2 separate regions of the Homo sapiens genome follow, and region 2 is linked to region 1. The links are contacts of gene promoters, found by promoter capture Hi-C in human tissues and cell types (Jung and others, 2019). All regions are on one chromosome and are shown on one strand. Each heading gives the region's core, a stretch centred on a gene start or on the middle of the fragment in contact. The rest is flanking DNA. Distances are from core to core; before and after follow the strand shown. Region 1 holds the start of MBNL2 (muscleblind like splicing regulator 2). Region 2 overlaps FARP1 (FERM, ARH/RhoGEF and pleckstrin domain protein 1).

Region 1 (4,715 bases), core at 1-2,500:
TTATGTTTTTAAGATGCAATGGCAAAATAAAAAGAAAGCATTCCATTGCATTCTGTTGCTTCATTACAGATGCGCTGAACAGTTGCTTATAAAAATCGTGCATTGGGTTCAACCTTTCAGATGAATAAAGGCTTTGTTCTGTCTTGGTCTCATCATGTAATCATCATACTTTTTTTTTCTCAAAATGTGGTATTTAGGGGAGGAAAATGTATGCTTGTTGTGTTTGCTCAATGCCATATGTTTTTGAGTTTTTGTTTTCAAGGCATACAGAAATGCTGTAGACTGGGAAATAAATAAATAAATAAATAAATAAATAACCCTTCCTAAACTTTCTCTTCTTCTGCTTTATCTCAGGAAACTCCAGCACCTCCTAGAACATCTTTTGTGGAATGGCACCTCATGGGGGCCCTTGGATCATGTACCCCTTGTATTCAACAGTAAACATCTTCCTATAATCATTGCTTCATTAACGATAATGTGAGCCAATGCACAGTATTTATCAAATGGCATCTAAGATGGTTAAAGCACACCTAATCCTCTCGTGGGTGCCTGCCAAGAGTAGAAAAGGGTAGTGTATAGATATCAATTTTATTGTCCAGCATTCCCTAATCGAAGTCCCAAGTGGTCTGAAAACTTAGACGAAAGATAAATGGGCCGCAGTAATTAACCACTGCAATAACAGATGTTATACAGGAAACCTGTGTGTGCCAGAGCTATAAGCATGTTTTGATTTTGAATACGCACTTGGGCTAGCACATTCTTCCTCAATAATGGAAATATGTAAATGTTTTGTAAGGTATTAACTGCCATGGCAGACGTTGAATTATTTTTCCTTTAAAAAACATATACATATGCTTTGTCAGATAGTCCAAGGACTTCAGTTTCATGTACAACCTGGATTTCTTTGGAATCTGCGGAGTTTCACATTTTCCCAAGTGTTCACGGTGAAGCTCCTGGCTTCGAGCTGGCTGTCTTCAAGGGTGTTTTCTTGAGCTACCCCTCTCTCTGCTCTGCCAATTATGTGCCACTTTGTCTTGGTGCTATGATTGCTTTCTTCTGAGAGGGAAATTCCTCTTTCATCAGTATGGATGCACTGTTTTTACACACTGCAAGTGCTGTGTTACTGTGTCAGTCATCCTATTAGGGCCAGTTTCAGACGAGTAGGGCTGACGAGCTGGCTGGGGATTGGCTGGCCCCGGCTGGGAGGGATTTGTCGGAAGGAAGGGCTGCAGCTTACAGCAACAGAGTTTAGACTGTCTTTGCTTCATCATCTGAAGGTAAAATTTTCCAGATACGGCAGACGGCTTTCAGAGTACAATAAACAGGGAATGAGAACTATTTACATGGAAGTTTCTTTCTCATGATGCGGTGGAGAAGCCTCGGCCACTTGGTTCTGCCAGATGTTCCTGGGGTTACTGTAAATGGGAAGGACAGGCAGAGCTAAACAAGGTAGGAGAATCGCCCCCCTTTTTTGAATGTTTAAAGAGTTTGCTGCAGTATGCTGCATTCCATGTGTGCTGCTTACGGGAGCCAGGGAAACTGGATTCCACTAATTCAATTGTAATACTTGCGGGGGACCCTGGAGTTTTACGTAACATTTTGATTTGAGAAAAAGAAATGGCAAAGCTTGAATCTATGCCGCCTGTTTGGGGTGAGGCAAGAAATCGAGTTTTTATGCAAAGAATCGATTCATTTATTATATTATTTTTTAAAAACCATTTGAATTCTTTGGAGCAATCTTATTTTCTTGCTGTGAAAAATTGTTATATTGCCATAGCTAGTTCCCAAATAGATAAAGTTTACATGGATCCTATTATTTGAAAACAGACTTGCAATTAAGGATTAAAAAAAAATTCATGGTAAATAATCATCGGTTGAATGTTTGGCCAAACGTATGTGTCTATTTATTAAAAATTAGGGACCTACCTAGCTCTACAATGCTACAGCTTTAATTGAGTTTCAAAAGCACATTTTAAACAACCTAGCAAGAGGTAGCTTTCTGGCAAGTTTTCGATACTGTAGTTCAATGTTTACATTTCTTTTCCTGGCATGTCTGAGCCTTTGTTTCCAGCTTAAAAGTGGAACCATTATATTCAAAAGTAAAGCTGGGTTAATAATGCTTACTGCAATTATCTGATCTTTATGCATTTTTAATGAGAACACACAGCCAGCAGAATAATTTAATGAGGGCAGGCTAGCTTTTAAAGCTGTGTTTTCACTATGCCGAACCATATCAACTTTCTCGCTGAGAAGCAGCAGTGAGAAATGATGGAGAAGATTTATTTTTAACACACTTGGCCCAGGAGAAGGAAAGGATATATTTGCTAAAGAATTCTTTCTGCCCTTTTCCGTTTTAAATTTCTGCCAGGCATGAGGAAACTGTGCTTTTTTGTTAGGCCTCGGAAGCATGTGTTTACAATAAATGTGTAACATTTTTAGAATAGTTAGCAAGCACTGAAGCGAAGAAAAAAATCTGACTTGCCTAACCACCACCACCTTGAATGTTCTACAAGAAACATTACTGTCCCTTTAAAAGACAAAGGTTAAGTGGAAAGCTATTTGTTAATTGGGTAATGTGTGTGTTTTGGGGACAATAAGGTTTTTAAAAAAGGCAGGGGGAACATTCTTATAATCTTTAAATAAGAGGAAGTTTCTTCAGCTATCCTACTTGTTTTGCAAGGAGCAGTAGAACTACTCATTTAAATAAGGGCAATGCCACGTAGATTCTTCTAGACCCACTGTTTTTACTTTCAAGGAGAAGTGCAGGACACTAGCCCAGAACTTCTGACGTCATCCCCCAACTATTTCTGCTGTGTGTTCCTTTATTCGAGCTTGTGGAGAGGAATATTTCTTTATGTCCTGGCCAGGAACATTCTAACTCCCCACTGGCAGGACTTAAGTTATGTCTTTATATTTTCGCCTGTCTTTTGTAAATTGTAAACCTGTCCCCTCATAAATAGGGCATCTTCTTGTACCTGCCACATGTCGGGCCGGTCAGCACAGGTTTTCTGCAGGGCTTCTGGCTGGGCTGGCAAAAAGCAGCAGGGAGCAGGGCAAAGCTTTTTTTCTGGCCTGACTCCCCCTTGGTGCAGCCCAGCGCTGCCACCTGGGTGGATGGTCCCCGGGGCCCTATTCCCAGTTGCTCCAGAGCCACTATTTAGGATCCAGGTTGTGCCACCAAGTTCAAGGCTGGTTGTGATGGTGAGAACAGCTGCTTTCATAGAAAAATCATCATGTCCTAGCACAGATGGCCCCAAGCAGGGGAAGTACAATACTGCAGGCTGCAAATCCATGTCACAGGTGGCAACCTTGGTCACAGAGATCGGGGGAAGGGTAATGTTTACAAAGGAACCTTTTAAAAAAGATTTTGACTGGAGCACATTGGAGTTCTCGGGAGTTCCCAAAGCTAATTTGTGTCTCCTCTCTGACTACTCACGTAGTTTTGAGCAAGTGCCTACCTTGATTTTTCTGTCTTTTAATAGAATTGAATCATACTTGCTACACTTTCCCTCATCATTTAGCATTTTGAGACCTTGACCTTTTACCAAAAAAAAAAAAAAAAAAAAAAAAGTTGTTTGTCTCTTGGCACATTGAGCTATTTAAAGTACAAAGGGATAAAACCTCGGTATTAAGAAACTGTTGGCAAACACCTTAGAGTATTAAGATACATAGTCATATACACAAAACCCTTCACTCTACTTTGTGCTCATGTAAATTTTTTAGGGATACTTTTTCTTAGTTCAACAAATGAAATTTCCAAGGAAATCAAAGCGTTGTTGTTTGCATTTTTTCCATCGATCTAATCTAATATACTAGAAGCTCTGCAAAGCACACTATTCTGGCCACAGGCCTTGTAGTGCCCAAAACATTTAATGCTGTTTTTCCTTTGACTTTTGTGTTAAATTTGTGAAAGTGGAGTAAATAAGAGAAAAAACAAGAGGGAAGGAGAAAAATATGCTTGTGAAATATACTGGTTAGGTAGCTTTACTGGTTAACAGCCTGCCTTCTCTCTGCTAGTTGTTTCAATTTGCTGTTGCTATGGTGAAAACAAATCAATATCACATGGCTACCAGCCAGTCCCGCGCTCAGGGAGTGCCATAGAAATTCAAGATCAGGTACTCAAGATTCCAAGCAAGAATTGGGAAAAGAGGATTTAGATGCTGAGCTTAAGAGAATTCCTTATAGTAGAATAAGTAGGTTCAATCTCTCATGCATTTTCTCTTCCTTTTTTCCTGTACTTTCCTACCGATAACAAGAAAAAGATGAAAAGGAAGGTATACTGATTTGTTTACATTTCCAAAATGACAAAACAGATTATCAACATAGAAATAGGTTGGCAACATTGCAAGGGGTGAAGGATTCTGATTCGGGAAAAGGTGGATAACTACAAGACATGTTGGTTGTTGAAAACATAGTTTTGGGGGCCTTTACCATCTTCAGGTACAGCTACATGTCAGAGCTGGCTGGGTTGTGCCAAGCAGAGAAACCTGGCAACTCTAGGGGGCAGGTGGGCAGTGGAGATAAAGGGGGTTATAAAAAGGTAGGGAGGTGTGGGCATAAAAATCAACAAGCAAGAAAGCCCAGAGAGAGCTGCAGGTCAAGAGTCAGGCCAGGCAAGCACAGATCCCTGGGGCATGGCAGAACAGGAGAGGACAGTTCGCCCTGTTCACGAAATCTGCTCAAGACCCAAGCTAAAGGCCTAGCAAAGAAAGGCA
Region 2 (4,715 bases), core at 716-3,215, 1.2 Mb after region 1:
GAGTGACACAGGGAGGGCCTGCCCCCCACTGTTCCCTATGCTCCCCCCACCTCCAGGCAGGGGCAGAGCAAACAAACAGCTCCGGGCCACACAGCAGCATCAGGCTCCCTCCAGAAGTCACCACTCACTCATTCCTGGAGACTTGGGGACAAGGCAGTCTCCTCAGCTATTTATTTCTGAATGATTGATTGATTCCAAACTACTTGCTGGACACTGGTGGTTCTGACCTGTGACCAGCACCTCTGCTTCCTGTGTGCCCTCAAGAAAATACTAGTGTGGGTAACAGTCCATCTGAGTGGAGTTTGAGACACACTACACATGAGACACACAATGATGCAGATACTCGTTTTCTTGAGCTTTATTGGCCCCTGCATGATACAGTCCCTGTGCTTAAGAACATGCCCTATTAGGTCACTCTGCCTTTGCTGACACATTTTATAGCAGAAATACACAAGCTGTTTTTAAAGGAGGGAAATATAAAAAATGTTTATAAACTGACAGTGTTTTGCCAGAGGAAAGGTACAAAATGCTACATACAGAACCAAACCAGCCACTTCACAAGAGCAATGCAGGGATAAAACTATTGGATAAGGAAGGCAGATGCACTTCCAAGAAAATCAGAACCCAGCAAGAAGTGGCCAGTGCACCCCAAACCACACTGGTGTCCACCTCATTGGCAGCAGCCAGCCAGGACACAGCTCAAAAACGCAGGAGCTACCAGCCACCCAGTCCACGGCCCTCGTCTCCCAGAGGCTGAGTACCTCCCCAGGCTGCAGGCTCTGGGCAGCTGAGCCAGGAGCAGCTCAGGGCTGGCACTGAGAGGCTACTGGTGACAGTAAACCCGTCTCAAAGGCTGGGCCTGGCTACAGACCAGCAGCAGTTGACGCTGAGGCAGGTTCCAGTGGTAGCCCTGGTGCCTGGGCTCTCTCTTAATGCAGGCCTGGAAGTGGCGACACAAAAGCCAGCTTCCTTGGCTAAGATGCCCTTAAAAACATTGGGGCTGATTTTGTGCGTCTACAGAAAGTAACAGCCCAGGAGAGAATGTACACAGAGGCGAGCTTTCTAACTCCATCAAACCCCACCTCCCCCGACAGGAAATGCTGCCAGTCAACTCTAAAAGAACCACTTGTTGCTCTACGGGGGAAGGGGCTGAGTATGATTTGTCTGGCGACTGCAGAGACTCCCCGTTCATACCAGTATTCATTAGAACCCAGTCCCTCGAGCGGCTCACCCACTGTTACTAGCATGAGACTGGCTTCAGTGCTAAAAACTGTGATGTCATTGTCCATTTGTAAATCTGAAGAACTCTGTAAATCAGAAAAGCTGCTGTCCGCCCTGGCTCACTTAAAAATCAGGTAACGGCACACCCTGGGGAACACAGACTCAATCTGTGTGATTCGCAAGGACAAAACTCATCTTTGACTTATGCCGCCGGCCTCACGTAAGGAAACAGTTCCCCACACAGAATACTCCCTGGAAACACAAAATGAAATCTTCTCCAATTTTATTATTCAACATAACATTCTTGTATGGAGTAATGAGTACAATAAGAATTAGCAACTCAGTTCTATTTCCCCAACCAAAATATATCCCTTATACAAATTAAGAGTTCAACCCAAATCCACTTCTAATAAAATACCTCAATTTTAGAGCTTAAAAACCAGACTGCACTAGCAAACCGACACAATAACCCACTCAAGCATCTGTAGCTCAGGGCTCTGTCCCCTCCCTATAGCTTAGAGGCCACTAGACCAGCAGATAGCTGAGCTACATCCCCAAGCTCACCCACTAACTTCCTTGCTTCCAAAAATCCTGTCTTAACTCCACAAGAACTGGCACACCCACGGGAGATGTCAATCATCAGCTTCAACAAACATAAAAGAATGCTTCATGTACCAGTCAACAGCTGCTGCACGAACCCTCCCACTCCAGAAACCCAGAGATTTTCCCCCTCGCCAAGCAAGGTCCCACAGCAAACCAAGAAAAACAGACACACTGGCTGCCTGCCTAGCAAGCATAGGCCCCTTCCAGAGAAGCAAAATAACTCTTAAGGTCCCCGGCAACCGCTACAGCAATCGCACAGATCAGCAACCTCCAACTGCATCATCTCGGTGAGCAAGTGCGCAAGCAGTCCAGGGCGCTGACCTGGGCACTCGGCAGCTCCAGGCCTGGGGACTTCTCCCTGGAGTCTTCCAAAGTGTCTCATCACACACACACAGCCACGAGTACACACGCACGGCCACACATACACAGCAGGTGCCCTGTCCTCTGAAGAGTCACATTTCAAGGAGTATGCAAAATAAGCGTGTTATAAAATTTATTTGTGTAAGCATTCAGACATTTTTAGGTGGGAAAGATGATATGCAGAATCCACTACAAGGTGCAACAGAAAATCGTATTGGAAAGGACGGTACATCTGGCGCAGACCAGCAGTGGCACGATTCCAAACAAATGTCAGACGAGAGCGCTTCATGGGGAGAAACTGAAAATTATAATTTAAAGCTTCATGAGGCAAGATATGTTCCAATTTAAAACACTAAGAAATAGTACCATCGATGAAAAAGGAAATCAACCTCTAGGTGTACCAAAAGGGGCGTAGGGCAAACGGGGAAAATTTGCATTTGTTGAGGTACAAATAGGAGTGTTCTGTAAGAGAGGGGCATTAATTATTAATGACAAACCCTGCAAATACAAAATAAAACCCAAATCACTGGTCACAGAATTCAAAATGTACATGTAATAAAGGCAAGGCAATAGACTCAAGTTATGGCCTGTCGAATATTTACTCCACTGACGTTATCTACAGAAGCACTTGGCCAGTTTGTACACAGTGATTCCTTATGCACGCCGAAAGGGTTTCCGTAAAAATGACATTATATACAAATCTGTACACCCATCCACCAGAGCGATTCTCCAGCTCCCAGAGGGAGTTATCAACTTAAAGCAGGATACCTGAGGTTTCATGTCTTTAGTTGCCTTATCATAATCCCAAATATACATTTCAGGGTTTGTTTTTGTTTTTAAAGACACTTTCCTGGAATATGTGCACTATGGTTAAAATTAAAAACAAAAGTAATAAAATAAAATAAAATGATCGCTGGAAGGAGCTGACCCTCCCCACCCATCTGAGAGACTTCATCTGGCTGCAGCACAGTGAAGACTGTGTGTGTCCCTGGACGGGCGCCTGGCGCTGGGGTGGCTCCCAGTGGCGCACCTCTTCGGTGGAGTCAGCGAAGGCTCTCGTTGACTTTTAAAAAAGGAGGAGGATGAAGAAGGAAAAAAGGAAAAACAAAACCCCAAATGCCAAAGGAATTTCAGTGGGATGAAGTTCCTCCACCACTTAGAGAGTATCTAGGGAAAAAGAGAGAGAGAGAAGTCAACACATGTCATTTCTCATCCCTGTGCAAAAATTCATATAGTAACCAAAATCTTAGTTTTCATAAGAAATTCCAAGTCATACAAAAATAAGTGGAGCAAATATCAATGTGTAAGTCTAATTTTAAAAGAATGCATATAAAGACTGAGAAGATCATGATTCTTACACAAAAACTCCAGAGCATGTCACCAAAAACCAAGAATGGGTTCAGCCTCCCTGGAGAGATGTGAATAAAACGGGAAATCATATCCCTTTTACTTACGATCAATTGTCAAAAAGTGAACATTGATCCATACATGATGACACAGTAAGATTCCAGGGATGCATATGCATTCCCGATGTGAGGGCAGGAAACCCATTTTGGCCATAAAAATAGTGATGCAGTCCAAGAATCTATTTCCTAGAACTGCTTCCGAAATATGGTCCAAAGCAGGAACAACGTGTCTGCACAAAGATGTCTCTCGGGATTTTCGTAATTACACTAATTTGGAAACAACTCTGATGCCCAACAGTACAGAATCAGTTAAGTAAATTATACAAACTGAAATAACAGACTAAAAATGGTAATTATCTGTATTTACATATATATATTAAAGCAATATTAAAAATATGTACAAGTTTAAAAGTACATACAAAATTACAGATTGGGCATCCCTTATCTGAAATGCTTCTGGCTTTGGATCTGGGAATATCCGCATTATACTTACCAGTGTGCAGCCCCAAATCCGAAATCTGACATGCCCCAGAGAGCAGTTCCTTTGAGCCCCATGCTGGCGCTCAAAAGTTTCAGATTGGGGATTTGGGATATTCAGCCTGTATATGTGCACTATATAAGTATATTTACATGAACAACTTCTGTATCCTAAATTAAGTACTATAGAAATTCTAAAAAATCTTCTTTGCACTATAAGGTAGATAAGAGAATTCAGTAAGTTTATGACCTGGTATGACAACAGAAGGCAATGCACCCAAAGATGCTGATGAGATTTGGGCTACAGTGGTGGGATCATGGGTAATTTCTGTGTCTTCCAAAAATTCTACAAGATTGTCTTCAGAAGACAACAAAGGGTGAGAACGGGGTCCCCTCATGACCACAATTCCCTCAACCATTTTACAACAGACTCCAAATCACAGGTCCAGGAGAGATGGCTGAGGATGTCTTTGACCAGGCTTATCTCAAACGTTCCAATCTAGAGCTCCTCTTTTCAGGCATTTGAAATACTTGGCATCTCTCCCAGAGAACAAATGGTTACATAAGGTCCTCCCAAAAGCACACATTAGCCACGGAGCCTAAGACTCAACTATCAAGAAATACAAATGACTAAATCACGGGATGAGT

The links. The method cuts DNA at HindIII sites, captures the fragments that hold promoters and counts their contacts. A contact is called where the count stands out against the background at its distance.
Region 2: a fragment that was not itself captured here is called in contact with the fragment with the promoter of MBNL2 in region 1 in 1 of the 25 tissues and cell types used here (spleen).

What each region holds. Positions count from the first base shown.
Region 1 is chr13:97,221,083-97,225,797 of GRCh38, forward strand. MBNL2 (muscleblind like splicing regulator 2) reads left to right here and starts at 1,251. Exons shown (of 9, transcript NM_001382683.1): 1 at 1,251-1,449. RefSeq lists an enhancer at 1,273-1,332. The HindIII fragment of the contact is 5,720 bases long and covers 1-2,342 here.
Region 2 is chr13:98,449,859-98,454,573 of GRCh38, forward strand. FARP1 (FERM, ARH/RhoGEF and pleckstrin domain protein 1) reads left to right here. Exons shown (of 27, transcript NM_005766.4): 27 at 1-4,715. It overlaps STK24 (serine/threonine kinase 24), which reads right to left. Exons shown (of 11, transcript NM_001032296.4): 11 at 1-3,351. The coding sequence ends at 3,315. Among named protein-coding and RNA genes, the nearest start is that of FARP1-AS1, 16 kb to the left of the region's middle. The HindIII fragment of the contact is 6,145 bases long and covers 1-4,715 here.